Linked DNA regions of Homo sapiens: region 1 is linked to region 2. Evidence: promoter capture Hi-C in 16 types of primary human blood cells and fetal thymus (Javierre and others, 2016). All regions are on one chromosome and are shown on one strand. The core of a region is centred on a gene start or on the middle of the fragment in contact, and the rest is flanking DNA. Distances in the headings are between cores, read along the strand shown. Region 1 overlaps TBX19 (T-box transcription factor 19). Region 2 holds the start of SELE (selectin E).

The links. The method cuts DNA at HindIII sites, captures the fragments that hold promoters and counts their contacts. A CHiCAGO score of 5 or more calls a contact.
Region 1: a fragment that was not itself captured here is called in contact with the fragment with the promoter of SELE in region 2 in 1 of 17 cell types (naive CD8 T cells); the score reaches 5.4 in naive CD8 T cells.

What each region holds. Positions count from the first base shown.
Region 1 is chr1:168,313,326-168,320,076 of GRCh38, forward strand. TBX19 (T-box transcription factor 19) reads left to right here. Exons shown (of 8, transcript NM_005149.3): 8 at 1-1,101. Among named protein-coding and RNA genes, the nearest start is that of TBX19, 36 kb to the left of the region's middle. The HindIII fragment of the contact is 2,663 bases long and covers 3,284-5,946 here.
Region 2 is chr1:169,732,720-169,739,253 of GRCh38, forward strand. It overlaps SELE (selectin E), which reads right to left and starts at 1,360. Exons shown (of 14, transcript NM_000450.2): 1 at 1,252-1,360; 2 at 857-941; 3 at 1-279. The coding sequence starts at 893. The HindIII fragment of the contact is 3,955 bases long and covers 549-4,503 here.

The sequences.
Region 1 (6,751 bases), core at 3,365-5,864, 1.4 Mb before region 2:
CTTTTCTGTGGAGAAGGTGCAAAGCTGTTAAATGAGCTCAGAGTTTACCTAGCTAAGGCCACTGCTTCCTGCTTTGTGAAGCCTGGAAAGTATGTGTGGCCACAGGGCTCAGGTTCACACTTCTGCTTTGAGACCAGGATGGGGTGTAAGCCATAGAGTAAGGTTAACAAAAAGAATAAAGCTAATCATGTATTACAAACAGCAGTGTGCCCAGACTTGTGGAAATGAAGTCATGTCACTCCTCTGCTCAGAAACCTTCAATGGTTCACCATTACCAGTGGAATGAAGTCAATTCTCCTCACTATAACTGGGTGTGGTAGTTTAAGCCTATAATCTCAGCCCTTTTGGAGGCCAAGGTAAGAGGATCGCTTGAGGTCAGGAGTTCGAGACCAGCTTGTGCAACAAAGTGAGAGCCTGTCTCTACAAAAAATAGTCATGCACACAAAATTAGCTGGGCATGGTGGCCTGTGCCTATAGTCCCAACTACTTAGAGGAGGATCGCTTGATCTCAGGAGGTTGAGGCTGCAGTGAATTATGATTGTGGCATTGCACTCCAGCCTGGGTGGTAGATCAAGGCTTTGTTTCATTTGAAAAAAAAGAAAGAAAGAAAGAAAGAAAGAAATCCTACTACGAGCGATCACACCATCTGGCCTGAAACCACTTCCCCAGCTTAGGTCCCTCTGTTATCCTGTTGGCCTCCTATGTATTGGTCAAGGCAGGCATCTCTGTTCTCTGAACATTCATTGCACTTTCCCACCTCTATACCTTGCCTGTGCCTTAGTGTCCTCTTTTTTCCAGTTCACCTGTGCGAATCCGACCCACCTCCCAGAGCCTGGCTGAAACGTCACTCCCTGCATCCAACATCTGATCTGCTGAGATATGTCTGATCTATCTCTGCTCGCTGTTCTCCCGTTGTTTTTGCCTCTGCCATAGAGCTCACCTCATTTTGCCTTGTATTTTTGTTACCTGTGAGTGTGTCTCTCCCTATTAGACTGTAAGCCTCTCGAGGGTGAGGCCTAGCCTTCTTGTCTTTGTAACCCACAGCAGCTGGTACTGTGCCTTGCCTATTGTAGGTGCCCAATAAACATTTGCTGAACTGAATTGGTGTAATGTGCATGTGTGCTACAAGGACGGTGTGAAGTGGCTGGGGGGCAGATCTCAGAGACACATGCCCCATGACACATAGGTGCATCCGTGTGGGAGCCTAGGAACATGCTGGCTGTTAGTTACACGGGCTTCTCATCTGAGGCACCACCAATTGTCAGTGAATGACAATCATATATGGAGACAGGGTGTGTTAGAGTGGTTATTCCCAAATACTGGTTCTTGGATCCCCTAAGTCAGGATCACCTGGAACAGGGGACCCTTGCTAGACATACAGATTCGTGGGTATACCCCGTACCTGTTGGATCAGAATCTTTGGGGCTGGCGTTCAGGAATCTGCATTTCAAACAAGAGCTCCAGGCATTGGCCCTGGGCTAGGTTTGGAAACTCCTTGCCTAGAAGAGAGAAACAGGATGATAAATACTCCAGGAACCTTATTTCAGATGAGTTTTTACCTCTGCCCCAGCCAAGGTCATTGCTATAACCCGTGAGCAGAATCAGTTTCGTGAGTCTTCCTCCTCTTTTTCTACCTACTACTGGATGTGCTAATAACCTTGGGAGTGAGGTTTCCAGACCTGGGTGATGAGCAGTTCTCCAAACATTGACTTTAGACTGCACTGGCTGAGCAGCCCTTCTCAGGGCCGCCACTTGAGGAGTCTAAAGTTCCACTTGGAGCCTAGCATTGGCTCAGCTGCTTCCACCACTATTCCATCAGCTGAACCCGTGCAAACCCAGCCCACTCCAAGGCTTAGTCTGAGGGGTCCAAACATGGTACTATTGAGTCCTTGGCTCTTTCTATAGCGAAAGGTCCTTTAACATGCTATGGTGTCACAACTGGTGTCACTGCCCAATATTTCTGTGCTGTTCTGTTTTTTGGATCTCAGGAAACAATACTACTCCAGCTACGTGGTGTCCAGGGAAGACTCATTGCCTGACTTCAGGTTGCCTGGCCAGCGCTCTGGGCCACTAGTTGGCGTGTGAGTGGCCAAGGCACAATGGATCCATGCATTTGGAAAGCTGTCTGGTCAGCATGCCCCTAAGGCAGCATTGTTCCTGTTTCCCAGTCCCTTTACAATACCATTAGAGGTCACTAAGGTATTAATATATTAGTATCTCTGCAAGACAGTACTTTGGTAAGTTATAACAGATGGTCATTTCTCAATCTGCTAGAACTTTAGGCTACTGTGGCCTGTAATTGCCACAGCAGGTCTGACCAAGGCCTCTTTACTGGTCACTGCAGCAAGTCTTGGCACCAAGTCCTTCACATGTCCTGTACCAAGAGCTCAGCAAGTGTAATTAGGGAATAAAAACCCACCTTGAGTCTCACCCTTCCTGCACTTCCCCTAGCCTGGAGCAGACAGAAGACCTGGCCCAGGGACACAGAACAGAAAGAAGCTCGTAGCCTCCATTATATTTTCATTTATATTGCTCAGGTGAATGGGGTCCTCTGCAGCATGATAACATGAGCATTAGCTGAGTTTGGGGTGATCACGTCTCTCCGTCTTGTAGGATACTCAGCTTGGAACCTGCTGTGATTCTTAAACACACACACCATGATAGCTGGTTCCACAAATAGGATCTCTATTTGCTGTTAGCTATCTAGCCAGAGACACTTTCTATTTTTTTCTTTAAATAGTCTAGGGCTAATTTCTGATCAGAAGAAACAACACTAGTTACATAAGTCAGTTTAGTAAGTGACAGATTAGCTTCTGTAATGTGTTAGACAAACTTTGGAGTTTTGTATACCATTTCCTTGCTCATGTATCTTCTCTACTCAACTCACTATAAAACAAAAATGGTGCCTTTCAGGTTTTCTGGACTATTTCATGAAATTTAAGAGAAACTGAAATCCCACCTGAATAGAAGAGTTATGCAATACTTTTAGCCAGATGGTAGAGATTCTAACTCTCCCTGAAGCCTGGCCTATTGGAAAGTGTCCCCTACTGTGGGGCCTTTATTTGAGTCTGTGTGACCTCACCAGCCCTCCCTTCCCTGGATGAGCCAGCCTCATTACCAACCACCTCTGTCCACCATGCTTAGCTAGATGCTTATGGGAAACTGCTGATTCCCTTCGTGTCACTTGGTGGACACCCCCCAGAACTGGATGGTGGTCAAATTAGGGGAGGAATGTTTTCATCACCTAAGTTATTAAGAAAAAAACTCAATAAAGGATATTCGAAGCTTGGTAGGTCTTCACCACTTTCTTCAAGACTAGAATAGATTTGAGTGAATATCAGCAAGTTAAAATGTCACATTTGTGAAGAATATGAATTCTGTTTTACGGAAATTGTGGGTCAGCCAAAGTAGGGGATGGCAACTGGGGCATTCAAGTGGCCCTTCTTTCAACTCCTTCCTTTTTATTTTCTCCACCCATTCCCACTTTATTGAGCCACTTGTTGGCTACTGGCCAGGTTGGTGAACAGAGAGAGTACGGGCATCCTTGAGCCACTTGTTGGCTACTGGCCAGGTTGGTGAACAGAGAGAGTACGGGCATCCTGGAACAGAGGTTAAGGTAGGGATATGTGGTGCCACAAAAGATATAAAGGAACAGCCTCTGTGGTCTGAAGACACCAAAACTTTTCCATCATCATCATTATAGACACATCTATGGGGTAGTCTGTCCAACCCCCCAACCTTCTAGGAATAGAACCCCCCCAAACTCTTGGTGAAACTACCTTTTTGGAATAAGTAATGAGAGAAATCTAACGTGACTGACTCCATCTTGCTTCTAACCTCACAGGCTAAATTTCTTTTTTTTTTTGTAGACTGAAGCTGCGTTCATAAGACAAGGCTAAAATTGTGGTAGGGCCTTGGACTTTGCTGTAGAATAGGCATAGTTAAACCATGACCTGCCATCGCTTAGTTTGTTTTTCTATAAGTTGTTTACTGCCCCAGAATCACAAAACTGGGGGTCACATGATTTATAACTCCCCCATCTACTCCTATAGCTAACATCACTATTGTGAAACCTAAAGAACTGGTCTTTGAGATATCTTTCAGATTTAGCATTGTGACAAAACAAGAGATGCCACCTGGTCCTGAGGCCCTCTTCCAGGAACTGACTCAGCCACACGAAGACAGTTTTAGGTGTCCCTGTGATTTCATCTCCAGCCAATCGTTTCAGTTCTCCAGCCCCCTTCCTGCCAAAGTACCTAGGCTACTGAAATAAAACTGGCGTCTGGGAAACCCGGAGGCCAGAGCAACTGGTCAGGCCCAGGTGAGGACTTAGAATTCAACTAGTTGGGAGTGAGAAGTTGGTCAATCTCTCATTCTCAACATGGAAACATCGGAAATTCACATTTTCTGGTCATGACCACTCTTATTTGGAGCACTTTGTAGGAGTAACTGTGTGTGTTTATGTGTGTGTGTGTGTGTGTGTGTATGCACAAGTATGTCTATTTAGTGATGAGTTCCCTGTCCCTAGAGAATAAGTCAATAAACCTTTGGGGTAGATTCACTTTGTTCTGAAAGAACACTTTTTAGGGGGTGGAGTTTGGGGAGGAGTGTTAACAAGGAGTTTTGGGTTAACCAGGGCTGGTTCTGGAGGATGGAGCTGTGGTATCCCTCCTACATACTTATTAGATGGGGAGGGCTTGGAGCTTGGAGGTTGCTGAGGAGGAATCAGACATATTTTAGGTGGGAACGTAGTAATCTCTTAGAAGGAAAGACCTTTTCTATTTGTGGTTAAAATGTAGTGAAATATATTGGATGGCTTGGGTTAGCCCAGACCAAGGTTGGGCAGCAGGAAAAGTATATTTCCTCTAAGACAAAATTATATTACCACAATGGGAGGAGTAGTTTGAATGGATGACTGGTTTCCACACAAGAGCAACTGGAGGTAAGAGATGCTCCTGGACCCAATGTGGACTTATGCAGCCACCTGGACACTGCCATGCCTTGAGAAAAATGGCTGGTGTGTGGGTTAAAAGAGTGGATCCTCAAGCGTTAACACTTGGGGCCTGGGCTAAAGTTGCTAAGTGGGATATGTTGGGGGAAAATGTCCAGGGTTGTAATGACAGGAAGTCATGAGAGATTGAGGATACTCCATGGATTTCTGTTAACTTGAGCAGGTGGGTGTTGATGGTTACTAGAGTTAGAAATTTAAATTAGAGAAATGGCTAATTGTGTTATTACAGGGTGGATGACTGTCTTGGTTATACTTGAGGACAAAAACTGTCTTCCATTGCTGTACCTCCAACACCTTGCACATGTGCCTGGTAGGTACATGGTAGGCACCCCACAGGTATTAATCCAGAATTTTTAGAAATAATCCTTAGCAGTACTTGGAAATTTTAGGTGGGGAAACATGTTTGGTTTGATAAAAAGTTCTTTGTATATTTTTGTCAAAGTTGTGTCTTTATAAGATCGTATTTCTTTAGAAAAGTTTTTTTTTGTTGTTATTTGTTTGTTTGAGACAGAGTCTTGCTCTGTTGCCTAGGCTGGAGTGCAGCGGCACGATCTTGGCTCGCTGCAACCTCTGCCTGCTGGGTTCAAGCAATTCTCCTGCCTCAGCCTCCCGAGTAGGTGGGATTACAGGCGCTCACCGTCATGCTTGGCTAATTTTTTTGTATTTTTGTAGAGATAGGGTTTCACCATGTTGGTCAGGCTGGTCTCAAACTCCTGACCTCTGGTGATCCACGCGCCTCGGCCTCCCAAATTGCTGCGATTACAGGCATGAACCGCCGGGCCCAGACAGATTATTATTTTTAATAGCTTTATTGATATATAATTTACACAGCCTATTTAAAGGGGAAATTCATTGGACTTTTCTAGTATATTTACAGAGTTGTGTGCCCATAACCATAATCTAATTTTAGAACATTTTTGTCACCCTACAAAGAAAGCTTATACCCATTAATAGTCACTGCCCACTTCCTTCCTACTCACCTCCACCCCCTCCCCTAGGCAGCCACTTATCTCCTTTCTTTCTCTATAGATTTCCCATTCTGGACACTTCATTTGGCTGGAGTCATGTGATGTATGGTCTTTTGTGACTAGCTTCTTTCACTTAGAGGATCCTTGATGCTGTGGCGTATATCAGTACTGCATTCCTTTTTCTGCCAAGTAATATTCCATTGATAAATACAGCCACATCTTTTTTATCCATTCATCAGCTGATGGGCATTTGGGATGTTTCCACTTTTTGAACATTCATGTATGAGTTTTCGTATGGGATAGATACTATCTATCATTTTCCTCGTCTTACAGATGGAGGGAGCCAGCTCAGACAGCGTAGATGGGGTTTTCAGTGTAACACAACTAGTAGGGGCAGAATTCAGACCTACCTGACGATGAAGTTTTTGTTCCCATTCACAACCCAATGTCACCCTGTACTGAGGATTGTCCCAAGCAGGAGCAGTTACGTTACTCAGCTGGCACTTCCCCTTGGTTTCCTGTTACATTTACATCAGATTCCCAGGGCTGCGGTGGCGATTAGGGAAAAGAGTCTGTGTTCACACTTGGGAGGAGGCTGGGCGTAGGGCGTGGGAAAGCGGGAGACAGGGAGATCGTGGAATGAGCAGGGCTTCATGGGCCAGGGACCATCTGGGGCCTAGTGGCAGATTGCTGGTCTTCCAAGGACTGGATAGCATCTCTAGGGCATTTCCAGAAACCTTTTGGGGCAGATTCTGGTGAAAGTCTGAATTTC
Region 2 (6,534 bases), core at 110-2,609:
GCCTATTGTTGGGTTCACCTGGAGCCCAGTTCTTGGCTTCTTCTGTCAGAGGTTTCTGGGTTCCTACCCAGACCCACACATTGTTGACTTTTCTGATTCCAATCCAGTAATAACTTGGTGAATAGCTCAATATGGAGTTTAGGTACTCAATCTCTTCTTTGTTTTGAATTGCAACCAGGTGTGTGTACCTTTGCTGACAATAAGCACTGGCCTCATCATAAGTCATAGCTTCCGTGGAGGTGTTGTAAGACCAGGCTCCACTCTCTTTAATGAGAAGCACTAGTGGGAGAAAAAGAAAAGAAATGGTAGAGTTTGGTACTGTTGTGGTTTAACTCTGACAACTGTGCTTTTTATTGTCTTATTTTTGGCAATGTTTGTGACATGGCCCAGACTTTTCTCATCTTTTCAAAAGTAAGAAGTACGTATGAAGAAACAGCGACTTATTGTTTATCTCTTTTGTGACTGCCACCCACTAGGTACCTTATCCACACTCACTCACAACATTATAGTATACCCATTTTGTAGTAGAATAATAATCAGAATAACTAAGCTTTATTGAGCACTTAGTATGCACCAAGAAGCACTGTATGAGGTACTTTCCATGAACCATGCTATTGAATCCTCACAATGCATCTGGGAAATAGGTCATTATGATCCACACTTTACACTTAAGGAAAGGGAGACACCAAGAGGTAAAGTAAATGACCCCAAGCCCAGGGAAGAACACATTGCAGGTAGAGGTCAAGGATGCTGCCAGATATCCTGTGCAGGACAGCCCCAGACAAGCAAGGATATTTCAGTCTGAAATATCTATAGTGCGAGAATGAGAAATCTTGGTCTAATGGCACTGACTTACCCAAAGTGAGAGCTGAGAGAAACTGTGAAGCAATCATGACTTCAAGAGTTCTTTTCACCCAAAGGTTTAGGCTTGAAATACTTTCCTGGGGAGATAAAACACAAAATGAATTAAAGAAGGAAATCGTGGGTAGCTAGTTACATTATTCTACCATGATGTTTAAGGCAGCATCCTAAGATTTTGGGCAAAGGACACTAGTGCAATAATCTTTATTTCAGAGTTTAATCAAATAAATAAACAAATTTTAAGACTTTCATTATTTAGGTCAAAGAGAAAAGACAGGTTTTAGCTACAATACAATAAGAGCTTGTACAGATGTGGTTTTTATTAGAAGGCCTTTTGCATATCTGTGTTTCATGGCCCGAGGCTGCCCTTATAAAGCGTTCTGCACTTACCGTTTTGGGAAGCAGTTGTTCAAACACAGGATCTCTCAGGTGGGTATCACTGCTGCCTCTGTCTCAGGTCAGTATAGGAGTTTTGATGTGAAGTCAGCCAAGAACAGCTGAACACTACTTCGGCTGAGGCCCTTTTATAGGAGGGATTGCTTCCTGTGAATAATAGGAGGATATTGTCCACATCCAGTAAAGAGGAAATCCCCAATGGCATCCAAAAACTTTCCCGGGAATATCCACGATGCTTAAAATTACAATGATGTCAGAAACTCTGTCTCTTGAAGCTACTTCACCTTTGTCCATGCCTTTATATCGTATATGCAATTTTATTAATATGACAAAAATGCATGATTTTTAATTATAATAACATAAAGTCTATGTCTTTAAAAAGTTGTAAAACTTTGCTTGTTAGTAGTGTCTCTCATGTAGTTGTGGTAGTAATTAGAATTTCAGAAACAGAAGGAAACCAAGAATAGGTTTGTCATCCATAGTCTACTACCTTCAATTTCTCATTCATAGCTGTGGATAACCAATCACTACTCATTTTTTCTTCCTTTTTCACCTGCCAATTCAACATATTTAACATGCACTGTCTCACAGAGGAATGACTCACAAGGTAGATATTAATCTTCAGATTTTGCACGGCAGTTATGCCTAAATTAAAATATTATCTAAAAATAATATCTAACACTCAAATGGTTAAAATAATGCCTTATTTTAAAAAAAGAAAAATGGGAAATAGATATTTACATCTGGGAAAGTTTCATGGTTTGTTCAGTGAAAAAAATAAAAAGGAGGCCAGGCACAGTGGCTCACGCCTGTAATCCCACCACTTTGGGAGGCCGAGGCAGGCGGATCACCTGAGGCCGGGAGTTCAAGACCAGCCTGACCAACATGGAGAAACGCCATCTCTACTAAAAATACAAAATTAGCTGGGCATGGTGGCGCATGCCTGTAATCCCAGCTACTCGGGAGGCTGAGGCAGGAGAATCGCTTGAACCCGGGAAGTGGAGGTTGCAGTGAGCCAAGATCACGCCAGTGCACTCCAGCCTGGGAAACGAGTGAAACTCTGTCTTAAAAAAAAAAAAAAAAAAAGAAAAGAAAAGAAAAAAAATAAAACGGAAAACTATATATATATATTTAATTGGTCAAAATTTTGTTTAAAATTTTTGAAATGTTAATGTGCAAAGAATAAAAATTCTTCCACAATGTTAACAGTGACTAACTCTGGATGGCAGGATTTGGGATAATTTTTATATCCTTCATTATTATTTTCAGGATTTTAAAGTTTTTTTCAATTTCCCTTTTTTTCACCTTTATAGTAACAAGAATACAGTTTAAAGAAACTTGTCTCTAGGCCAGGCATGATGGCTCATGCCTGTAATCCCAGCACTTTGGGAGGCTGAGGTGGGTGGATCACCTGAGGTCAGGAGTTCCAGACCAGCGTGGCCAATATGGTGAAACCCTGTCTCTACTAAAAATACAAAAATTAGCCGGGGTGTAGTGGCGCATGCCTGTAATCCCAGCTACTGGGGAGCCTGATGCAAGAGAATCGCTTGAACCCAGGAGGCAGAGGTTGCAGTGAGCTGAAATCACACCATTGCACTCCAGCCTGGGCGACAGAGCAAGACTCCATCTCAAAAAAAAAGAAAAAAAGAAAAAGAAAAGAAAAGAAATTTGTTTCCAAATGCAACAGAAGGAGATGTATGTGGTATCCTATATTCCTGCTCTTCATTTTGACATTTCTTCTGGGTGATTGTATACATTCCCCATCTCTGCATCTTACCCTATCTAAATGATGGTAACAGTAAATGGGGATCATTTTAATTTCCATATTCTGTAGGTTTTCAGAGCTCAAGTCAAGCTAATATTCTATATCTACAGCCTTTCAAAATAGGAGGTCTATCTAAAAATGTACTGTCAGCAGACCTGAACGAGTAGTGGTAAAAGCCTCGTTTTTCTCTTTACTTGTTAGCACTGGTCTTTCTGTGTTCATAAAGATGTCAAGACCCAAAAAAAAAACAAGAAAAGAGAAGAAAAATTCCAAAAAAGACAACTGATTAGAAAAAAATAACTTAATTAACGAATTTAATTCAACCCCTATCAAAAAGCATAGAATTTATTCCCTCCACCTTACCACTCTCTTACATGATCCAGATACTGACATTATTCCAATTCTTTATCCCACTTTACTTAGCTCAATGTGGTTGTTGCTTCAATAAATTCAGAAGAGTAATCACTCATATAGTGTTTATTTAGATTTTAGGGCAGAATGTCAAGTTGGGTTAATACATTATCTGTATGTATTTTATTTTTAATAAAGTATGAATACATAATCTGCTATTTTTAAAAAGCATGGTCAAATGTATAGAGTAGCCAAATCTTAAAAAACAATTTATCTTCGATATCAATAAAGTACCTAATAATTATATTGCTAATAGAAATTAGTCGTTAACATCCCTAGATAACTAACTTTATTATTGCGAATTTTTCATAACTAAGTTTATAGTTTATCTCTTCCCCTTTTTAAAATTAGTTCAAAGATATCTAAAAATAGCCCCAGTGGTGATGAAGTTTCTATTTTACTTACATATATATGTCCTGGACCCCCAATTATAATCTCTAACATTTATTGAGTGCTTACTATGTGCCAGGCCATATTCTGAGCATTTTGTATGTTCACCTATTGATTATTCAATCCGTACAACAGCCTATGAAATAGGTACTCCTATTATCCCCATTTTACAGATGAGGAAATTGAGAATCTGGGGATTTTATCTCATTCAAAAGCACAGAGCTAAGGGTTGAAACCAGGCAGTTGATATCCAGAGCCCACTCCCTTACCTGCTACTCCAAACCATGATTTCTTTTGTTGTTATGCCCCGAGATTCCTTGTTCTACCCAAGTTTCCTGTACTCTTCTTGCCCTCTTCTTCCTGAGACATCCTTGACCATCACAGCTCTCCACTGAGATAACTGTGTCCTGGGTTCTGAGACATGGGGGCTGGAAGGGACCCCAGGGACAGTGAGCAGTAGGGAGAGGATGCAGTGAGAACAGACCCTGGATCCCCGGTGCATAGGCAGGGAGAAAGTGGACAAAGGAAAAAACAAGCAAGGCAGGTGGAGCCATGCCTAGGTAAAGTTGATCCCTAAGCCACAGTTCCCAGAAGTTCCTGATTCAAAAGCAAATTTTCTCTAAGGTCAAAGGGCAAACTGATTATTCTAAATTCTAAACTGATTATTTCTAAATTGAGAAAGCTTCAGGGAGAGATCCCAATATTCGAAGGATAAGAGAAATGAGGAGTGGAAGAGATAGGTGAGTAACAGTAACTTAAATGTAGACTATATATAATATATAATATATGTAGAGTATATATATATAATTACAATATATTATATATGTGGAATATATATATTATTTATATATATTTATATATTTTATATATATAGATATTTTTATATTTTATATATAAATATAGATATTTTTATATTTTATATATAAATATAGATATTTTTATATATATTATATATAAATATATGTAAAATACTGTGAAAGAAGAATAGAATCTTGAGACCTCAAATTCACTATGCCAAAGGGAAAGTTAAGCTTGGGAAATGAGTCATGCAAAAACTGCCTTCCTTTTGTTCCCAAATACCTGTAATTTCACATGCTTACTTTATCTTATATAAAATGTAGATGTACTGAGCATGAGATCCATGCATAATTTCCCTCTAGTCCCTTCTTTTTACATGTAAAGTGTAGACTCACTGAGTGTTACAGAGCCTTGCCACAATGTAAACACTTGTCTCATTGCCAACCCATCTTTCGTTTATTTTCTTCCCCTCCTGCTTGCTCTTTCCCCTCTAAAGATGGAAGTTCCCAAAACTCTCTTTGGAAAAAGCGCAGGTCACAGATCCTACAGTGATTTGTGTTTCTTTTACCTGGGACAAAATAAACCTCTAATCTGTTGAGATATGCTTCAGTTACTTTTTGGTTTACAATATGTACATGTATGTATATAATTTATATGTATATAATATATGTACTTGTTTTAACCAGAGGTATGTTATTCAAAATCCATTCATCCTTACAATTACCTGCATTCTCCCACAGTATTTTCTGTGTCCCTGCCCCCGAGGTTGTCACTGCAAATCAGGTACATGGATACTGGGAGCTGATGGGCTCCCCTCTGGCTACCTGGGCTGCTGAAGGGGCCATAGACAGACCCAGCTTTCCTCTCGTGGAGAGGCCCTGGGCCAGCGCTGCGTGGGAGTGGGATTACAACCAGACTATAGCTTCTTCACCTGCTTTTTCCTATCAGGATTTCATAAGAGGCAATTGCTTGTTTTTTGAGGGTGGGGGCAAATCAGGGGGAGTTGAAGAGGAAATTGGGTAAGATTTGAATAGTTGGGCATGTTGAATATTATGAATATCATCTCCCTCTTCAAATAATCCAAAATATACCCCCAAGAAACAGGCTGATTAGAGGTGCTTCAAGGCTCCACTGAATCTCCCAAGCTCTGAAGATGTAGCTAGCTGTTACCGGATTGCCGGTTTTCAAGCCTCGCCTCACATGGACCCTCTTGGCAGTTTCTCGCATGGGGGAAGCATCCGCTACATAGATGGGAATGAAAAGAGGAAAGAAGACGGTGCAAACTCAGGCACACCCCGGTGTCTGCCACCAGTGCTATTTAATCTCTGAGGTGTCACCCTTCCTGGCTTTATTGTCTCTTCCTGGAAGTCTCTTGTCCTCTCCTCCACACCCTTTAATCAGGCATCAAAGACTTTAACCAGTTTTGCTGTGTGCCCAGGCCCACTCATTCTCACTTTTATGGCAAAGGGAGTGGGAGACAGAGAGATAGCCAGAAAGAAGAGATTGGGGACCCCAAGACAAATGTTAGAATTTTAACCAAGGCCACCCTGTGGACAGGAGATTATTGGGTTTAGTGGAAAGCAGCACTGGCCACAACCACACGTGGCAAAAGCATCTATCGAGGAGTGAAGTTATATTTGGTGAATGTGACCGGGAAGCAGGGGCAGTGGTGTCCTCCTGCCTTCCTGAGGCACTCTGTTCCCTTACCTCTGCGAAGGCTTATTTTACCCCTGAGTGCTTAGTTTTGAAAGCCTTAGTTCCCTCTCTCCCATAAAAAAGCTCTACTCTGCTAACATCTAAGTTACCTTTGCAGAGTCTTAGGTAGAGGGAGGAAATCCCAATAAAGATTCCACCCTATCTGCAAAATACAAACATGGTATTTCTTGCATTCCCAAAATTGTGAAAGAAAATGT